2 separate regions of the Homo sapiens genome follow, and region 1 is linked to region 2. Evidence: promoter capture Hi-C in human tissues and cell types (Jung and others, 2019). All regions are on one chromosome and are shown on one strand. Each heading gives the region's core, a stretch centred on a gene start or on the middle of the fragment in contact. The rest is flanking DNA. Distances are from core to core; before and after follow the strand shown. Region 1 overlaps CTIF (cap binding complex dependent translation initiation factor). Region 2 holds the start of ACAA2 (acetyl-CoA acyltransferase 2).

What was found. Contacts are between HindIII fragments. The study calls those that stand out against the background at their distance.
Region 1: a contact is called between a fragment that was not itself captured here and the fragment with the promoter of ACAA2 in region 2, in 1 of the 25 tissues and cell types used here (dorsolateral prefrontal cortex).

Annotation. Positions count from the first base shown.
Region 1 is chr18:48,622,582-48,626,584 of GRCh38, forward strand. The region is part of intron 2 of CTIF (cap binding complex dependent translation initiation factor); the gene reads left to right. Among named protein-coding and RNA genes, the nearest start is that of MIR4743, 46 kb to the right of the region's middle. RefSeq lists an enhancer at 591-770. The HindIII fragment of the contact is 3,233 bases long and covers 735-3,967 here.
Region 2 is chr18:49,811,763-49,816,137 of GRCh38, forward strand. ACAA2 (acetyl-CoA acyltransferase 2) reads right to left here and starts at 1,771. Exons shown (of 10, transcript NM_006111.3): 1 at 1,707-1,771. The coding sequence starts at 1,722. SNHG22 (small nucleolar RNA host gene 22) reads left to right here and starts at 2,261. Exons shown (of 4, transcript NR_117096.1): 1 at 2,261-2,300. It also overlaps SCARNA17. RefSeq lists silencers at 1,564-1,683, 1,577-1,871, 2,114-2,283. The HindIII fragment of the contact is 6,306 bases long and covers 488-4,375 here.

The DNA of each region.
Region 1 (4,003 bases), core at 1,101-3,600, 1.2 Mb before region 2:
GGTGGTGCATTAACTTATTTGCATAATCCTTTTTTTAATATACAAACTATGCTTATTGCACAGCTAATAGTACCATGATCTGAAGTGGAAGGAGGAGGAGGATTAGGATAGATTGGAAAATTGTAAGGGAAATTAACCTCTTTAGATTGTCTAGGGCAGGAACTAAGTGAACCAACTTTTGCAGTCCCCTGGAAGCCCCTAGAGCTGACTTCCCCAGGAGCAGGGCCTGTGGATGGGCATATGGGCTGGCTGGGTACCCCCTGTTGTGGGCTGCCTGCCTTTTCAGCTGTGTGGCATCCAGGCCTGCAGCAGGGCATCCTCCAAAGGTTCCTCCAGCTGAAATTTGCTCTACCTGGAGGAGCCAAGGAAGCCTCAAAGCTTCACCCCAGAGGTATGCGTGGCTGATGGTAGAATTTCTGTGCCCAGAGCAGCCAGCGGGGACATAGTTTTGAAAGGAGGTGCCCTCCCAGCGCTTTCAGTCTGGGCTCTGTGCTTCTGGCACCAGCTCCAGGGATCAGTGGGGCCTGACTCACGCTTGGATGCCCCCATCTGTGTGGCGGGCAAGGCAAGGCTGTGGAGGGGCTTTCAGACTGACGTCTGCTGTGAAGTGTGGTGTGGAGAACACCTGTGTGGTGTGACATTTGGATGCATTCTCTAAACTTTCTTCATGCTCTGGAATTCCCTCGAAGAATGCAGACACCTGGCAGGATGCTGGGGCCTGCAGGCCTGCCTGCTGCTGCCGGAAAGGGAGGATGTTTCAATCCTGCCCCTACCGCGCCCCTGCCTCCCCGATCCCCACAGTCACACACACACCTGGGGTACCGACTCTGGAAGAGGGACGGCTGTGGCCCACTCTCAGGAAGGCCAGGGTTAGCTGTGTCTACATAAGATACTTTTTAAAAAAATTCTCTATTAACACAGCTTTATGGGAAATATTTCTGCTAAAGCACTTTGGCTTGTTTTTTTTTTTAATCTGATGACTAGTTTAAATGGAAGCCAAAAAGAAAAAAAAAAACAGCAAACACTCAGGGAATGTTCCTGTCTGCCTGTGTGGTATTTTGATGTTTCTGGGGAGGAAATTTGTTAAGAAGCTTGGAAACCTTGAGAAGACCTGAGGGAGTGGAGAGGAATGTTGCTCTTCAGCTGGTGAGGTCATTTTTTAGGATCTGAGAAGTGACAGTTGACACTCAGGGAGAAAATATCTCATGATGTTTGTACACTTGTGTTCCTCTCGTCCTTCCCAGTAACAACTAGAAAGAAATGAAGGATGGATGGATGGATGGATGGATGGATGGCTGGCTGGCTGGATGGATGGATAGACAGACAGATAGATAATACATAGATAATAGATAGATAAGATAGATAGATAGATCAGTTTTCCTGTCTCTTAGATGAATAACCAAGACAATGTGTGTTTTAAGTTTGCCAACATTTTCTGGATGCCATGTTTAACATCATACCTCTCCCCATGCTTGACACCACGCCCCTCCCCATGTTTGACACCACGCCCCTCCCCATGCTTGACACCACACCCCTCCCCATGCTTGACACCACGCCCCTCCCCATGCTTGACACCACGCCCCTCCCCCGTATTTTACATCGTACCCCTCCCCCATGTTTCAGGAGCACCTGCTGTCCAATAGATTGGAAGTCCCCACAGTCACTCTATCCTTGGGAGGAGGAGGGATTTTAGCCCTATTCTAAAGGAGGGAAACTGAGGCACAGAAATGGAGCATGGCCAAACCCCACTGCTGGGTGGTGGCTGAGCTGGGCTCTGGAGCCCCATCCCCACCCCACCTACTTCTGGTTTCCTGCTCCGTACAGGCCATGACTGATTGGGTGTTGGGTGGTTAATATAGATTTCTTTCCTATAGAAAGAAAATTAGGTCTCCAAATCTCATTGACCACTAATCTTTTGGGGAAGAGATTAGGATGTTGTAAGTGGGGAAAATTTTGGCACATGTGATGTTCGTGGATGATCTAGTGGATCACCAGAAAGCTTGGAAGCAGTATGCAACTCTGAGCGAGCATGAACTCACTTAGGGAGCTGTGAGAAATACTGATGTACAGGCCCCACTGCTAGAGATGCAGGCAAAGGTGAGGGGCCTGGGCCTGAACTATTCATAAGCCTGTGCATGACTCTGATTGCCACAGTGGGAGCAGGGCTGTCTCCTTTCTCCCCCTCCATGGCCTGCTGCCCCGATCCAGTCTCTTGGAAAGATAACATGTAGGAACCCTATGAAGATACATTTAATGACAGCATAGTTTCCAGTAAATTCTTGTTAAGGGGTCAAATTAAGAGCCAGTGAGAGTGAAGATCACTTCCTATAGCCCTATTTTGATGCTTTCCGGCACTTGGAAACCCTGGGTTTCATCTAAAATGCAGTGATCTTTACAAAGGGGTGCAGCAGTGGCAATGAATAGGATAGGGTGAGAGTGTTCAGATCGGCTCAATGGCTTTTCCTAACAAGTTTCTCCTCTTTCTCTTTACGTCTCTCCTTTCATTCTGCCTTCCCTGTTCACTGTTCCCTCGCCCTTTTTCTAAAATCCCATCTCTTCATTTCCTTCTGCCCTTAAATTCATTTTTCCTGATGTCTTTGCTCACAGGAGGAAGTACTCAATGGTGGACCACCCATGAAAGGCTTAACAGAAGAAGTGAGTTTATAGGAGGACTGCGGGGTGGTTCAGCATGGGGGATTTATTATATATTTTCCCCTTATTTAAAAAATGTATTCTAAATTATACAAGTACTTTATGCATACATTCCCATAGTGCACAAGAATTCAGATATTAATAATTAAATTCTCCTGAGCTAAAATTATTTTAAATTATACAAGTCCTTTATGCATACATTATCATGGTACATAAGAATTCAAATATTAACAATAAAATCTTCTGTGCTACCACCTCATTCTGCTCCCTTACTCCTACCTCCCATCAGATGAGTGAGTTCATTTCCTTGCCTTTTTTAATGCCTTTCCTGACATAGGTATGACTTGAAGAAATACAATATTGTCAAATCATATATCATAGCCAGTGGATATATTGTTCAATAACTTGCATTTTTCACCTGCCCACATGCCCCAGAGATTCTTCTGGGCTTGCACATCTGCTGTGTTCCGTTTAGTGGCTGCCCAGTTGTCCATAGCATGGATTTATTTAACCATTTGCTTAATGGTAGGCACTCAGGTTACTTCTAAATTTTCCCCTGGAAATACGTGATACTTCAACACATACTGTTGAACATGCCTCCTTCTGCACAAATAATGGAGTTTCTTTAGTTAGATGCTGAGAAGTAAAATTAATTTTAATAGCTGTTGTTAAAGTGCTCTCCAAAGATCTTCCATTATCCATACTGCCACCAGTGTATTGGGACATCTTGTCATTTTAATTCACATTGTCTTATTTCTTTTTCTTTCTTTTTTTTTTTTTTTTTTTGAGATGGAGTCTCACTCTGTCACCAAGGCTGTAGTGTAGTGGCGCGATCTCAGCTCACTGCAACCTCCCCCCACCGCAGGTTCAAGCAACTCTCCTGTCAGCCTCCCGAGTAGCTGGGACTACAGGCACATGTCACCACACCTGGCTAATTTTCGTATTTTTAGTAAAGATGGGGTTTCACCATATTGATCAGGTTGGTCTTGAACTCCTGACCCAGGTGATCCACCTGCCTCGGGCTCCTAAAGTGCTGGGATTACAGGCGTGAGCCACCGCGCCCGGCCACATTGTCTTTATTTCTAATGAAATTGAATTACCAATCTTTTTATTTTCTTTTTTTCTTTTTTTTTGAGATGAGTCTTGCACTATCGCCCGGGCTAGATTGCCATGGCATGCTCTCGGCTCACTGCAACCTCTGCCTCCCAGGTTCAAGTGATTCTCCTGCCTCAGCCTCCCAAATAGCTGGGATTACAGGCGTGTGCTACCACGCCTGGCTAATTTTTTGTATTTTTAGTAGAGACGGAGTTTCACTATGTTGGCCAGGCTGGTGTCGAATGCCTGACTTGTG
Region 2 (4,375 bases), core at 521-3,020:
CTTTACCTCTCTCGACATGAGTGTCCTCCTAATTGCTACAATAAGGAAATGGAAAAAAATACGATCACTAGCTCTAACACTACAGTAAATTGTACCAGAAATTTATAAACTTTATACTTCCTTAATACAGGTGTCAATGTGCATTTTTTTCCTTTTTGGGTTTATAGTATTTGTGAAATTTTCAAACAGGTCTGTATTATAAGAAAGGGTAAGAACCACTGATAAAATATTAAAATGATATCAGTAAAAATATTATTTCCTTTTTTAGAAGATAGCTCATGACAATGCACCTTTTAAATGAAGTGTAAATGCCTCGTCTAAAAAAAATTCACCACGCTGCTTTATGAAGTAAATGTAGTAAATTCAGTCAGGAAGGGCACTGGCAAATGAAATCCACGTTGCAGGAAACTGTAAACACTGCATTTGGTCCCAGAATACGGATTTTTCCCTTGATTTGTTCCCATGCCACTTTGGTTCTTCTCACTTTCAGATCCCCCTAACCAATGCTTAGCTGGCATCTCCACTTGGCTGCTTCACAGGCACCAAAAAGTTTTCTGCCTAAAACTGAATTCTCAATCCTTCTTTCCACATCTATTCCTTTCCCAATTTTCCTCACTCTGTAAAGTGGCATCATCATGAACACGGTTCATCAAACCAGACACTTTTCATCATTCTCGACATTTCCTTCTTATATTTACTCCACCACATCCAATCCACTTTCTATCAAATCCACCTCCAAATCTATCTCAACTCATCCCTCCCCTTTTCTCCCCAATTACACTGCCCCACACGAGTCAAAGCCATCATTTGCTGCTCCCTGGACCTCTACAATAGATCCTTAAATGGTCTCTTCGCCATTACACAGACCGCCCCAAATTCGGACAGAGTGGAAATCAGATCCTGTCATTACCCCGCTTTAAATCCCTGTATTGCCTTCCACTGAATTTGGAACAAAACCCCACCTTCTTACAGAGCCCACAGGGCCCTGGAGCACCAAAATGCTTGGTTCTTAGATCCTGCCAAGCTTTTTCCTGTCTCAGGGCCTCGATATGTATTCCACCTCAATGTTCTTCGACTCGTACATCCTTAAAGTAAGATTCCATTGACTGTGCCCACTTGTTTTGAAAAGGGAGTTTATTACACAGTTGTTTTAAACAAGTTCATAACCCTAGAACTTAGGTATAGAGTGACCGCTCTAATCTAAAGCAACAGAAGGGAAATGGGAGCAGGGCAGGTCTTCCAGCAGAACACCAGCTACCATTTCTGCAGGCCTCTCCATCGATTCACCCGGGGAGCCCTGACCACCGAGGCCGAGCGGCGGGCTCCTGTGCGCAGCTGCCCCGCAGCAGGCGCCCGCGGCCTATGGCGCCGCCCCATTTTTTCTAATACTTGGACTCGAACTAGTGGGGTCACTGTTAGGCGAAGAAAGGAATGACCTCCAAGGTCACATGCAAGCAAACTTTGGTCTCAACTAAACAGGAAATTGCACCGAAATCGCTGTCGCTAGCGCCTTACAAGTAAGGGTTTTCTCCTTAACCCAAACAAGCCTTTCGGGCTGGGTTTTTATCACGTCCGCTCCAAAACCGAGGAGGTTGAGTGAACTTCACCCCACGACCCCGACTCTCCGCGGCGGCCGGAAGCGGAGGCCTGGCCTGGGGAGGGCAGGACCCCGAGGGGCGAGGAGAGGAGGAGGGGGCTGCGCTCACCTCGGAGCAGAGCCATGGCGGCTGCTGGGTCGTCGGCGGCGCGGGTCTGTGGTGTGGGGGACGCTGAGCGGCCGCTCGCAATCACCCAGATTTCAAGAGCGTGGGTGGCGCCCCGAGAGCCACGCCCCTGCCCTTTCACCTACTTCCTGGGGCTCCTTGGCGGGGTCCCAGCGTAAGATGGTCCTACCCCACGCGTAGCGCTGCCCGCCTCACCCCAGCCCGAGGGAGCCCAGGGGACGGGGCTCGGATAGACCACAACGCGCCTTGAGAGCGGACTCTTTCCTCACATCCTCATTTTTAGATTTTCTCCGTTTCCAAACCGAGAGAATTTGGTTTGACACCTCTCACCCATCATATCCTAGCCCCGACAGGCGATGACTCTTCCCCTTTGTCTCCGCCAACACCCTAAACACTGGGCAGGAGCCAAGGGCTGAGGAACTTGGCGCGCGGGCGGCCGCGGCCGCCAGCTGGGGGCGGGACCGAACGTCCTGTGGGCGGGGCGCGGCGGCGGCGGCGGGATTGGCTGGGGCGGGCGGGTGCGCAGTCCGCTGGGCAGAGGCTTGGGCCGCCGAGCTGGACCCGGACCGGTTTTGGGTACTGTACTGGGGGCAGGGCAGAGAGGTGGGCGGCAGTTGGGGTGCGGTGATTGTAGTAGGCTAGGGCGCTTTCGGGTCCCCATTGCAGCCCCCGGATGAGCCCGCAGTATTTTCCTTATATGATCAGGTCCCATTGCGGGCGGCGCCGCTTGCCCGGAGCCTGAGAGGATTATGAAAACGTGGCGAGCGAAATGGGGCCAGGGGACCTGGAGCAGGGGCGTGAGGAGAGTAGGCAGCGGGTGAGGCTGGACGGGAGGGAGGTCTAGGGAGGCCTCTGCCGCGGGCACTGTGAGTCCTGGCCGATGATGACGAGACCACTGCGCAATCTGAGTTCTGGGAACCAGGTGATGGAGTATGTTCTGAGAACAGACTGAGGCCGGGCAAGCAGGAGGCGGCCGCGGCAGGGGAGAGGCGGAGAGCCCCTCGATACCAGGGCTCGGAGGGCCGGGCTGCCTAGCGAGGGCTTCTTTTGAGTGCGTAGGGGTGGTGGGTGGCATGGACGGTTTCTCTGAGTCGTCAGCGAATGCCCCCCCTAGAATCCTGCTTTTCAAACACTTTGGTGACACTCTTGCAATGTTGGGGTGTTTTTAAATCCAAATTTGTATTATGAAAACTTACAAACTTACAGAAAAGTGGGAAGACTTGTACAGTGGACACATATCGACCCAATTGTTAACATTTTGCTATATTGCTATCCACCTGTTCTTCCATCAAACCATCTTATCTTTTTAATGCAGACCTTAGTACTCTACACCCATGAACACATCAGCACACATTATTCATTTACAGTTCTTTTTAAGGCAAAATATCCACGCAATCAAATGTACAAATCTTAGACAAGCTTCACAAATGCTCATGTATAGGCCGGGCGCCGTGGCTCACGCCTGTAATCCCAGCACTTTGGGAGGCCGAGGTGGGCGGATCACGAGGTCAGGAGATCGAGACCATCCTGGCTAACACGGTGAAACCTCATCTCTACTAAAAATACAAAAAAATTAGCTGGGCGTGGTGGCGGGCGCCTGTAGTCCCAGCTGCTGGGGAGGCTGAGGCAGGAGAATGGTGTGAACCTGGGAGGCGGAGCTTGCAGTGAGCCGAGATCGTGCCACTGCACTCCAGCCTGGGTGACAGAGCAAGACTCCGTCTCAAAAAAAAAAAAAAAAAAAATGCTCATGTATAGAGTGTTCATTTTTGTACACAGTTTTCTATTCAGTTTGCCTCTACATATTTAAGAAAGGTTAAGTATCACAACTTCCCACTGCAGATCACCATCAGTAGGTCTTTATAGATGTACTGTGTTTTCTCTAATTGGAAATGTCACTAATGAGTGGATTCTAACACCATTCAGTGAAAGGTTTACATATATTAAAACACGTAAATATATGAGAGAATATTGACATAGTCTCCAAGTCTCATGAAGAGGAAAGGGTACCTTTACAATGGATAAATCTTGCGGGTATTACTTCACCAAATTATGAAGTAATGGTGTCCCATCACCAATAAAGGGACAGACTGACGTCATGCGCTCCCCTTGCTACAGCGACAACACAATCTCACTTGCGTAGAATTTCTGCTGAAAACATCTGGCCTGAATCTAATTATAAGGAAACAATGAGACAAATCCACATGGAGGTACATTCCACAGAACAACTGACCTGAACTCTTTAAAAACATCAGTGTGGTGAAAAACAAAAAATGGCTAAAATAGGAATAGTATCACATTAAAGGAGACTAGATATGTGACACATATTGTATGAGATCCTTAATTAAAACCTGGGTTAAAAAAATACTCTAAAAGACAGTATTGGGACAACTGGAGAAACATATAAATTATAGATGACATGGTAATATTGACATTAAGTTTCCTGATCATGATAATTATATTGTAGTTATGTAGAAGATTGTCCTTTGTTCTAAGGAAATACATACTGAAATATATGGGGGTGAAGAATCATGAGCTTGCAGATGACTGGAAAAAATGCATTTATATATATACAGTTATGTGTTGCTTAACCACGAGAATCCATCCTGAACGATGTGCTATTAGGCGATTTCGTCATTGTGTGAACATCATAG